4 separate regions of the Homo sapiens genome follow, and regions 2, 3 and 4 are each linked to region 1. Evidence: promoter capture Hi-C in 16 types of primary human blood cells and fetal thymus (Javierre and others, 2016). All regions are on one chromosome and are shown on one strand. Each heading gives the region's core, a stretch centred on a gene start or on the middle of the fragment in contact. The rest is flanking DNA. Distances are from core to core; before and after follow the strand shown.

What was found. The method cuts DNA at HindIII sites, captures the fragments that hold promoters and counts their contacts. A CHiCAGO score of 5 or more calls a contact.
Region 2: a contact is called between a fragment that was not itself captured here and the fragment with the promoter of RAMP3 in region 1, in 4 of 17 cell types (endothelial precursors, M0 macrophages, naive CD4 T cells and 1 more). The highest score is 6.9, in endothelial precursors.
Region 3: the fragment with the promoter of SNHG15 here is called in contact with the fragment with the promoter of RAMP3 in region 1 in 4 of 17 cell types (erythroblasts, endothelial precursors, total CD4 T cells and 1 more); the score reaches 9.1 in erythroblasts.
Region 4: a contact is called between a fragment that was not itself captured here and the fragment with the promoter of RAMP3 in region 1, in 10 of 17 cell types (non-activated CD4 T cells, M2 macrophages, naive CD8 T cells and 7 more). The highest score is 8.7, in non-activated CD4 T cells.

Annotation. Positions count from the first base shown.
Region 1 is chr7:45,156,440-45,159,139 of GRCh38, forward strand. It overlaps RAMP3 (receptor activity modifying protein 3), which reads left to right and starts at 1,352. Exons shown (of 3, transcript NM_005856.3): 1 at 1,352-1,447. The coding sequence starts at 1,390. The HindIII fragment of the contact is 23,160 bases long and covers 1-2,081 here.
Region 2 is chr7:44,963,321-44,966,020 of GRCh38, forward strand. It overlaps MYO1G (myosin IG), which reads right to left. Exons shown (of 22, transcript NM_033054.3): 17 at 2,317-2,540; 18 at 1,625-1,769; 19 at 1,095-1,199; 20 at 729-842. Among named protein-coding and RNA genes, the nearest start is that of MYO1G, 14 kb to the right of the region's middle. The HindIII fragment of the contact is 2,717 bases long and covers 1-2,700 here.
Region 3 is chr7:44,985,386-44,988,085 of GRCh38, forward strand. It overlaps SNHG15 (small nucleolar RNA host gene 15), which reads right to left and starts at 1,311. Exons shown (of 3, transcript NR_152597.1): 1 at 1,140-1,311. It overlaps SNORA9 (small nucleolar RNA, H/ACA box 9), which reads right to left and starts at 125; the gene lies at 1-125. RefSeq lists enhancers at 410-1,156, 1,002-1,121, 1,157-1,904. The HindIII fragment of the contact is 12,531 bases long and covers 1-2,700 here.
Region 4 is chr7:44,924,372-44,927,071 of GRCh38, forward strand. No RefSeq gene overlaps it. Among named protein-coding and RNA genes, the nearest start is that of PURB, 40 kb to the left of the region's middle. The HindIII fragment of the contact is 4,333 bases long and covers 1-2,700 here.

The DNA of each region.
Region 1 (2,700 bases), core at 102-2,601:
AAAGTTCTTCTCCCGAATAAGGGTCTTGTTAAATAAAGTGGGTCTTTCTAAGCCAGGAGAAGTTCAGCTCAGCTCCTGGGAAGGTAGCAGTACCTACGGCTCAGAGGAGTGGAGGGCCCATCCATGTAGGAGCCTGGGCCTGTGCCCCAACCTCAGACCAGCATGTGCCCCCAGGGGTGGTGGGTGGGCCCTGGAGGGCAGAGAGGTGCCTCTAGCTGGCTCTCGGAAGTCCTGACCAGTGACAATTCTTAAGACACCATTAAGTGTCCACTGGAGCCAGGGCCTGTGCTAGGGGCTGAGGGTGACAGAGGTGACCCATCTGGCCAAGTGACCTGTGGCTGGAGAAACTGAGGCCCTCCTTCGCCTCAGGGACCCTGACACTCTTCAAGGCCAGGTCTTTGGTGGTGCCAGATACTCTCCTGTCCCTTGGTTTGCTTGTGGCTTGGTTCTTGGTGTGTGATACGTCTCTGTGTGTGTAGTTGCCACACCCTCCAGTCTCTCTCATACACACTGTTTCCCAAGCATACACTCACAAACACACCTTGTCTCAGACTCAAACACACACATGCCACACACACACCATACATCACACACTCCATGCACACACATGCATCTACACACACCCCACATGCACATCACACACACGTACTCCATGAACAACACACACACGCACACACACAGACGCACACACACACACCCCCCAACCTCTTTTATGCACTTTCCTGACCTTTGGAGACCTGGCTCCTAGATGTATCTCTGCTCAAAGTTCCCCTCCCTGCCTGGGGGCAGCTCTGGACTCTGGTCTACTTTCGGCCAGGGCACACCTAGCCCACTCCCAGGTCCACCTTCCTCCAGTCTACCCCCAGACTCCTCTAGGCCATCATCAGCCAGCGCTTCATCCTCACCTCAGCTCCCTCCCCGGTCTACCCCCACCCTCTGCCCCTGAGCCTGGACGGAAGTTCCCCAAGTCTCTCCAGCCTGCATCCCAGCCCACCGTCAGCCGGCCCCCACGCTCACCCCAGCTCACCTCCCAGTCTGCCCCTACAATCTGCTCCCAAAAAGCTCCTTTGCAGCTCAGCACCCCAGCCCCGCCCTCAGAGCCCATCAGCCGGCACCCCACCTTACCCCAGCTTGTCCCCAGCTCGAAACCCTGCCCTCGCCCCCCTCTCACCCCGCTGAGACTCCAGCCGCCCCCATCCCTCCCACCCGGCGCGCCTGCAGGGACTGCACCCCACATCTGGAGGCAACGGGGCACGGCCGCAGGCGTGGTCTGGGGGTGCGGCCTGAGGGCGGACCCCCTGAGGCCCCGCCCCACCCCAACCCCAACCGGGCGTCCCCCAGCCGCGCCCCCAGCGGGACCGAGCGTGACCCAGCTGCGGCCGGCCAGCCATGGAGACTGGAGCGCTGCGGCGCCCGCAACTTCTCCCGTTGCTGCTGCTGCTCTGCGGTAAGGGGGCGACGGCCCGCACCGGGGGCGCCCCCACTCCTCGGGGTTCACCGGACCCGGGTGGACCCGCGCCTTCCCGCACCTGCGCCGCGGTCCTTCCCTTGCCCCGGAGCTCGGGAGGGGCGCACAGTGACCCTGGCGGGATTCCCAGGCTCTGCGGGAGGGTTCCACCCGGGAGAAGCTGAAGGCGAAGGACTCTGGCGGGCAAGGGAGGCACAGGGCCCCCTCCGGGGTCTTCTGACGGCAGGGTCCGGCAGCCCCCGGTCCTTCTAGTTGTGATGTCCCCCCACGCCCCGGTTCTGGGGTCGCCTCAGGGTGGGCGAGAAGAGGTGGACCAGGTCTGGCTCTTTACCCCTTATCCCCCAGGGTGGGCTGTCTGTAAGGTAGTGAGCTCTCTGTCCTGGCATTGAGTGCCTGCCCACCACTCACAGGGGCGTGGGCGGGTGGACTCCGGACTGGGTAGCTGGTCCTCCCAGGGCCCCTCAGTGTGTGGACGCCTGTGTGTGTCCTGGAACTGGCTGAGAGGGGAAGCGGGGCGACTCTCTGAGCCATCCTCTCCTAATGCCTTCTTCGGCAAGAAATCAGGACTCTAGGAAGAACCATTGCTCACAAAATGGAAATAGATTAAACTAAAAGCTTGTTTTGAAGTACCTTGCTAAAGAAATTATCCAAGAAAAAGTAAGAGAGAGAGAGAGAGAGAGAATGTGTGTAAAGGCTGTTGGGGAAGAGTGCTTGCTGAGGGCTGGGGTCCACTGAGTGGTGACTGAGCCTGGCCAGTTCTGGGGGGGACATTGGTGATGGAGGGCCCTGGCCTGGTGGTCCCCAGTTTCCCTGGCTGTAAGATGCAGAGTTGGGCCTGTTTTGATGATTTGGGATTTGGTACGGGAGGTGGGAAAAGGGTGGACCAAACTCAGTGGTCATTTTCCTTCCATTGAAGAGGTCTTGGTGTGCAGAACTTGTGTGGCTTCATTTGGTGTTCCAGGGCTGGAGCCTAGGATGTGGTGGATTTTGTGTTGAAGTGCAAAGGTGGATGGCAGCTTCTGAAATCAGGAGCATGCTGATTTGGGATTTCAGCAAACTTCCAGTGAGCGCCCCTTAGGTGGAGATCTTGGTCGCTATAGTGGAAGGAAGGTCCTCTCAATTCATTCTGGGAGAAGCTGAGGCTTTCCTGATCATCTCCAGTATCAAATTGAGAAGGACCACAGGCTTCCGCCTGCACAGAATCCCCCCTTAATAATCCTGTCTCTCGTGGA
Region 2 (2,700 bases), core at 95-2,594, 190 kb before region 1:
GCTGCACAATACGATTTTCTCCAGGACTGATGGTTCTAGATCCTTGCTGTCCAACAGGGCCGCCACTGCTCACCTGTGGATGCTAAGCCCTTGCATGTGCTACTGCCTGGAGGAGCCGTTTTTAGTTCTAGGTCACTTTCACTGCATTTAAACAACCACGCCGGCTTTGGGCTGTGGCATTACACAGCAAGGCACTCACCGCCCTTTCTATTGGGACAGTCATGGGACCCCTGAAACTGTGGGAGACCCAGAGGTAGCCTGGCCTTGATCCCTACCCCCGTCTTGTGGGAAAGAGAATTTATGGGAACAGCAGCTGCTAATGAAGGGAGCAAGTAGGCCACAGAGCTCGGCAGAAGGTTCCGGAGTGGCCGGGACGGTATCCCACAGGAGGCCCAGAACATTGTGGTGGGTACTCAGGTCCCAGAATGCCCAGGTGGGAGAACCCCAGTTGGGCACAAGTTGGAAGAGGGGACCATTTGGCTTGGCTAGAGTGTGAGAGTGGGGGTGGGGGGTGACTGGGCTGGTGGGGATCACAGGATGGGACCTTTCACTCTGTGGGCGTGGGAAGCCACTGCAGGATTTTCAGCACGGGTGCCACCATCGCTGAGTTTTAGGATGGTCTGGGCCATCTCAGGTAAACAGGGGAGAGAAGACTGAGGCAGGACTCTGAGCAGCCCAGCAGTGCCCCTCACAGATGCTGCACCCTACTCCCCACCCACATTGCTCACCGCCTCAAGGGGCACGGCCCGCATCACCCGGTACTGCCGGTCAGGGTCCAGCTTGTAGAGGTGCTGGTCTGTGAGCAGGAGGGCCCGGTTCCGGATCTTGTGGAAGCGGTTCACCTGTGGGAGAGGTGGCTGGACCCAGGCTGGTGCTGCCCTGTCACCCACCAGGGCCCCAGGCTTCGGCAGTCCCTACTGCCTCCCCTCCCCGCTGGCGACAGTTTTGGGAGTGTCAGGAGCAGCTGGGCCTGGGCTGGGGTTGCCTCCATTTTCTCCCAAGTGCCCCCCCAAAACTCTGCACCAGCTTCTAACCTTGCAGACGTGGCTAGAAAAAGAGCACAGCCCTGAAGCCATCCTTGTCCCTTGTCTAACCTTGCGGACATGGCTTGAAAAGAGCACAGCCCCGAAGCCATCTTTGTCCTGAAGTGTCTTTAGTCGCTGAGCAAACAGGCTTGATGCTGTGGGATTGTCAGTGGCCTGAGGACAGATGGAGGGGAGGGGGCGCTGCTTGGGATTGAGTCATGGGACCAGACTCAATTGATAGCAGCTGTCTGTGAATCAGCATAGCTATCCTTCATCTCGGGAAACTGAGTCACACAGACTTGTGCGTGAGCTGAGCAGCCCTGGATTTCCTGAGGGCACAGAGCCCTCTTGTGTTGACTTCTAGGCTGCATCTGAGCCTGGCCCTCCTGTCATCCACACCCACCCCCGAAGGCCACTGCTCCTGAAGCCCAGGATGAGACCTTGCAGAGCTCTGGTGGGGGCTGAGGTACAGGGCCACCAGGACAGACAACCCCAGGCCTGGGAGAGGACATCTGAGGGGACCTGGTCACAGCATTAGCCGAGAGCCCTCTTTGGCAGCCCACTTCCCCCTGGCAGCCCTGGACTCGCCTGGCACTTACAGAGGACAGGTAGTCTCGGGCCCAGGCCCGTCGGCAGCCCCAGTCCTGACGAAGCCCTTGCAGGGCCCCCATGGCGGCCACCTTGGCCTTGATCTGGGGCATGTCTGAAGGGGGGATGTTCTTCACCAGCTGCCGGGCCCGCCACCTGGGAGAGGGCATGTAGTCAGACAGATGCTGGCCATGTGTTCATGTGCTCCCTGAGCCCCCTCTCCACAGAGGAAGCTGAGCCCTCAGCCTGGTGCTGCCTGCCTTTCATGTCCCAACCTCTGCCGGCCTCTCTGGCCTTGGCCCCTTGTGCCTAACGCTTGTTCCTGGAAGGTGACCCAGGGACCAGCAGTCGCCCAGTGTCCTCCTGTTCTGAGCATGCTCTGTGCCCCTCCTTCTGGAGAACTCCTACTCAGCCCTCAAGACCCCGCTCAGATGCAGAATCCCCTTACTTCCCAGCCCTAATGGGCCTCCCCCTGCAGGCTGCAGCCCTGGACCTTGAATGCCCACCACAGTACCCAAGATGGTCAGGGCTCTGCACCAACTGTGGGACATGAGCAGTCAGCTAATGTGGCATAGCATCCACCTTCCCACCTATCAAGGGGGCTGGTGTATCTCCCATCCAGGCACTGCAGGCCCGGGATGATGGGTTAAGGTATTCAGTGGATGCCAGCTGAATGGAATGTGTGGTGGGCTGAGAGTAGTACCTGCAGAAGAGTGCGTGGCAGGTGTCCTGGAAGGGCTGCAGCACAGCAGGGGGCAGCGGCCACACAAGGTCACGCCCGTAGAGTGGCGGCTGCCTTGCAGCCTGGAATCGCCGCTGCAGCTCAGCCAGGTGAGCCCGCACCTTGTGTCTCCGGAACCAGCGCATGATGGTGTAGATAGCCCTCAGCCTCCGGCAGCGCCACCTCGCCAAGGTGCCCCGCCATGCCTGGGTGGGCCAGGTGGGATGGGATACGCAGTCAAATTCAATCAGGCCCTAACCCTTAGACCCAAACCTGGCCCTGAGCATTTATTGAGCACTCCCTGGCCTGTCTCCATCAAGCAGAGACTCCTGTGAAACTTACAAGTGTGTTTGTGGCCCCTGGGAC
Region 3 (2,700 bases), core at 61-2,560, 170 kb before region 1:
GAAATTTCTATAACCTTGCTCTGGATGGAGCAGGGCAAGGCCTCAAACCGTTTCAAAACTGTTCTAGCAAGCACTGAAGGAATGCATAGGGTCACCGCAGACCCAAGCACGCTGGAGGCTTGCTACCCTCATTCACCCAAATCCCCCACACTCAAGGAATCTGGCAGTCCACTCTCACTAAGCACCAGTCCCTGCTGGGGGCTGTGGGAAGAGACCAGAGTTCAATTAGGCACCTGAGCTTGGTTCCAGGAGCCCAGAGCTACTAATGACTCTCAGGGAAAGATCCTTTCTGGCTGAGGAAGAAGGGAAGGTGTCTTGGAAGAGATAACCTTATTAAATTATTAAATAGATCAGACAACACGAACTAAACTTCCACATTATTCTATGACACTACAATTCTAGCATGGCTTTTCACTGTGACCAGAAACATCCTTATCATCATGTAGTTAATATAAATACTGCCTTTTCCCCTTCATTTTTTTCTCATGTATCTTACGGCTCAGAAATCACTTCTGAAGGAGTAAGTAGACCAGGCACATGAAGTAGATTTCATTTTCCCCATGAAATAATGGTTCAGAGAAAACGCAGGCCTAGTTCCAGGAAGGCAGAGTTGGGGTCTCTGCAACGTGATTTACCGGGGCATCTTGCAAAGGAGTTGCTGTGACAGTAAGCTCTTCCACTTTGAGACCGTCACCTCAGCCACGGCTCCCACCTAGAAGGGAACAAATGCAGTTAGCTCCAAACGCAGTTAGCTTCAGCTTGTGCCTCTGAACCATTATCCAGCTCTAGCTCCTTGCAACGCCTGGCCCACTCTACAGCCTCTCTTGCGGCAGGTCTACACGCCACCCCATGCCTTCCGGTGAGGTCCCTCCTGACCACACGTCCCATCCCACCTACTGGGGTCCACCCAGGTCATGCAGAAGCCCCACTTCTCGGCTGAAAGAGAAGCACGAGGTTACTCATCAAGTAATCCCCGAGTCTCCTCCGGGTAAAATGTTCCGAACGCGCTCAACCGCCTCTTGAGAGGAAGTAGCACGTGTAGTGAAGGCTTGGTCTCCAAGAATCACTGGTGCCCCCACTCACTGCGGCCCAGCCTCCCACGCCGCCCGCCACTGAACCCAATCCCCCAGGACCCCTACCTGGGCTCAGGAATGGTCAGGCAACACGTGGGGCCCAGGATGGCGGTGGATGACTAGACTGCCGAAGACCGCGCCGCTGCGACTACGAAGTACGGAGTACGGAGTACAGGTCTGCCAGCCAAGACTGACGCCGCGCGCTGCGCCGCGCACCTCGACGTCACCGCGTAGTCCCGCCCCGAAGCCGTGCGTGGCCGGGGCCACAGCGTTTGGGGTAGATGACGTCACGCGGCCGCGGGCGCTCGCTTGGTAGGGTGTGCTGGGGCGTAGAGTTTAGGGTCCTGAGGCTGCGTCTGCGTGTCAACTCAGTGGAGTCTCTCGACCGCCCTTTGTTACCCTCCTTTAGTGACCAGAAGGCTGGAGTTACGTAATCTGCCCCTACAGCTAAAAGGACGGAGGCCTGACGGCGTGGCCTGGAGGGACGCGCTGAGCCCCTAATGGGTGGTGCCTTCCTGGTGCGGCCGCACAGGCGGGGCCGGGCGGAATCCAAGCACGATGTGGACACGGAGCCTTGGGAATGAACAGGAGCCTGCCTGTGGGAGCATGTGGGAAAGGTGATGCAGGTGGAAGGGCAAATACAAATTATACATAGGGTTTAATTTTCCCTGAGGAAAAGAAGGGACGAGAAACCATCCCCCTCCCTTTTTCTTTCAAAATTTCAGCCTCTCTCCTTTCCAAATGTACTCAAGTCTTTTTCTTATATGGCCAGGTTCAACTCAGGAATGTTTCTTGGGAGCCATCTCCTTGAAGTGTAATTGTTGGCTGGGTGCGGTGGCTCACGCCTGCAATCCCAGCACTTTGGGAGGCTGAGGCGGGCGGATCACAAGATCAAGAGATCGAGACCATCCTGGCCAACATGGTGAAACTCTGTCCCTACTAAAAATACAAAAATTAGCTGGGCATGGTGAAGCGTGCCTGTAGTACCAGCTACTCGGGAGGCTGAGGCAGGAGAATCGCTTGAACCCGGGAGGCGGAGGTTGCAGTGAGCCGACATAGCACCACTGCACTCCAGCCTGGAGACAGAGCGAGACTCTGTCTCAAAAACAAAGAAAGAAAAAAATGCAATTGTTAAGGGACGAAAGGGCCAAGAGTCCAGCTTCTTAGGAGGACAAAGGCTTAACTTGGCACCTGACTCCAAATTGCAAAACCTACATAATGTGATGGGCTATCTCTACTTAGCTGCATAGAAAAAGTGAGTTTCTGTCTTTGTGTTGCCTTTAGCAGGTTGCATGTGATGTACGGCATCACAATCTGGTTTAATACTTATTCAGTAATGGTTTTCTGTCTCTTCTACCTTTGTGGAGAGGTTTCATGGGTTGGGAGGAAACTACTCTCCACCCCCCACCCACCCCCAGGCAGAGGAAAGCACATTGAAAGGTCCTGAAATTGGGAAGGACATGGTTTGCTGGTGATACAGCTAAGTATTACAAGTTTGTAGTGTTCTGGAAGGGTCTCAATGAGGAGCGGGAGATAAGGACGATGTGTTCAAGGGTCTTGAATGATCAGGCTAGAAAAGTGAGAACGTGGTTCTATAAGTAAAAGCAGAGCAGTGCTTGAAACTCGT
Region 4 (2,700 bases), core at 71-2,570, 230 kb before region 1:
AACTGTGGACACGGGAAAGGGGTTGAGGGATGCCGTATTGTCTAGGACTGGAGCTGGCACCTTGCTGGTCCCTTTATACACTGGTTATCTTAATTTTCACACACAAATGTTGTTATTCATGTGGTCTGGTGGAGGGAACTTAAGTGTATGGTCTTATAAACTGTAAAAGGGGTGGGGCGCTGTGGCTCATGCCTGTAGTCCCAGCACTTTGGGAGGCCGAGATGGGCGGATTACTTGAGGTCAGGAGTTTGAAACCAGCCTGGGCAACATGGTGAAACCCTGTCTCTACTAAAAATACAAAAAAATTAGCCGCACATGGTGGTGCATGCCTGTAATCCCAGCTACTTGGGAGGCTGAGGCAGGAGAATCACTTGAACCTGGGAGGCGGAGGTTGCAGTGAGCCGAGATCGCGCCATTGCATTCCAGCCTAGGCAGCAAGAGCGAAACTCCGTCTCAAAACAACAACAACAACAAAACAACAACAACAACAACAACAACAAAAACTGTAAGAGGATACCCAGATGGCCAACATGCCTGAAAAGGTGCTCAATCTCATCAGTGATCAGGCAGAAGCAAATAAAAACACAAGGCGGGGTGCAGTGGCTCACACCTGTAATCCCAGCACTTTGGGAGGCTGAGGCAGGAAGATCGCTTGAGCCCAGGAGTTCAAGACCAGCCTGGACTAAATAGTGAGACCCCATCTCTAAAAAATATTTAAAAATTAGCTGGACATGGGGGCACACACCTGTAGTTCCAGATACTTGGGAGGCTAAGGTGTGAGGATTGTTTGAGCCCAGAAGATGGAGGCTGCAGTGAGCCGTGATTGCACCCCTTGCACTCCAGCCTGGGTGACAGAGTGAGACCCTGTTTCAAACACACACACACACACACACACACACACACACACACACACACACACACACACACACTAAGATACCAGTACAGACCCATAGACCCATCAAATGAAAAAGACTGACAATACCAGGAGTAACATCCCCGCTGCTGATGGGAATCTAAATTGGTGCAGCCACTTTGCAAGTAGTTTGGCAGGATCTTTTTTTTTTTTTTTTGAAATGGAGTTTTGCTCTTGTAGCTCATGCTGGAGTGTAACGGCGCAATCTCGGCTCACTGCAGCCTCCGCCTCCCGACATCAAGCAATTCTCCTGCCTCAGCCTCCCGAGTAGCTGGGATTACAGGCGCCCACCACCATGCCTGGCTAATTTTTTATATTTTTAGTAGAGACGGGGGTTTCGCCATGTTGGCCAGGCTGGTCTTGAACTCCTGGCCTCAGGTGATCTGCCCGCCTCGGCCTCCCAAAGTGCTGGGATTACAGATGTGAGCCACTGCACTGGCCAGCAGGATCTTTAGTAGATAAATATCCACACATGCTAGGACCTCACCACTCCACCCAAAAGAAACAAACGCTTATGTGATGTGCAGTAGCATTTACCAGAGCCCTAGACTGGAAATAGCCAAATGTCCATCAACAGGAGAAAAATGAAATAAAATAATGATGAAAACAAAAATGAAATAATGAAAAAAATGAAATAAAATAATCATGCAATGGAATACTATACTATGAAAATAGGCCAACTACTGCCATACATAGCAGCTATGATGTTTGTACCTAAATGATGTGTTTTCCAAATTTTATCATTAATATCACGATGAATACCTTTAAACATGTCTTTCCAGAATACTTCTAGAGAATGACTACAAAGTAAATTGCTAAAGAGTAGCTGATGAATCAGGCTATGGGAATTCTTGATTTTTATAGATGTTGTTCGTTACCTTCAGAAAAAGACTAAATCAATTTATACTCACACCAGCCATGCCTCAGAGAGTCTGCTTTCCCACACACCTGCCAATACAGAAGGTATATGTGTTTAAAATATACTTTGAAAACAAGTAATATTCCTTCACAGTTTCACCTGGATCCTCATTTACTTATGTCGCCTGTTCTCAATCATCTTTAGTGTATTAGTTAGGAAAATGCCACCTGCTATGACTGACTCTAGAAGGAATACTACCTCATCAGAACAGGAGTCCTTTTTTGCTCCTACAAAGAAAAGGTAAGGTTTCTGATGATTAGCACTGGCAAGATTTGCTCCAAGTGATCATTCAAGAACCTAGATGGAAATATATCACTGATTTCTGTTTCTCCATCTATAAAATGAGAGTAAGGATACCATGCCCTACCTTGTAGGGATAGAGTGATTGTCAGCTAAGGTCACACATTTGAATGTCTTAGTAACAGAGTGCAGACTCACCCATTCCCAGCTTCTAGGGTGGTAGGAAAGGGCCCATTCTCCATAAGTGGAAGATCTATTTCAGAGCGAGAAAGAAAAAGGTGCTGAAGCAGTGTCAGAGCACGGCAAACTATCCTTCCTCCTCTTGTTACCAAGCGGTCAATGGGCTTGCAGTCCCATGTGCATACAAGCCAATATCAAGGCCTTGGCTTTTGAGAAAAGGAGTTGGAGGCTAGGTAGGGTTTTATTAGCGTAAAGTAATGAAGTGTGATCTGACTGGATCTTGCAGTGAGGTGATGCCAGAAGGCATGGTCTGACTGGATCCTGCCATGGAGTGATACCACAACTCCATCTGATTGGATCCTGAATCCTGCCACGTGGTGTCTGCCCTTAATTCAGTCCCACTCCTTGGTCTGAGTGTTTAGGTTGCCCCTGTGGTCGTACACTTGAC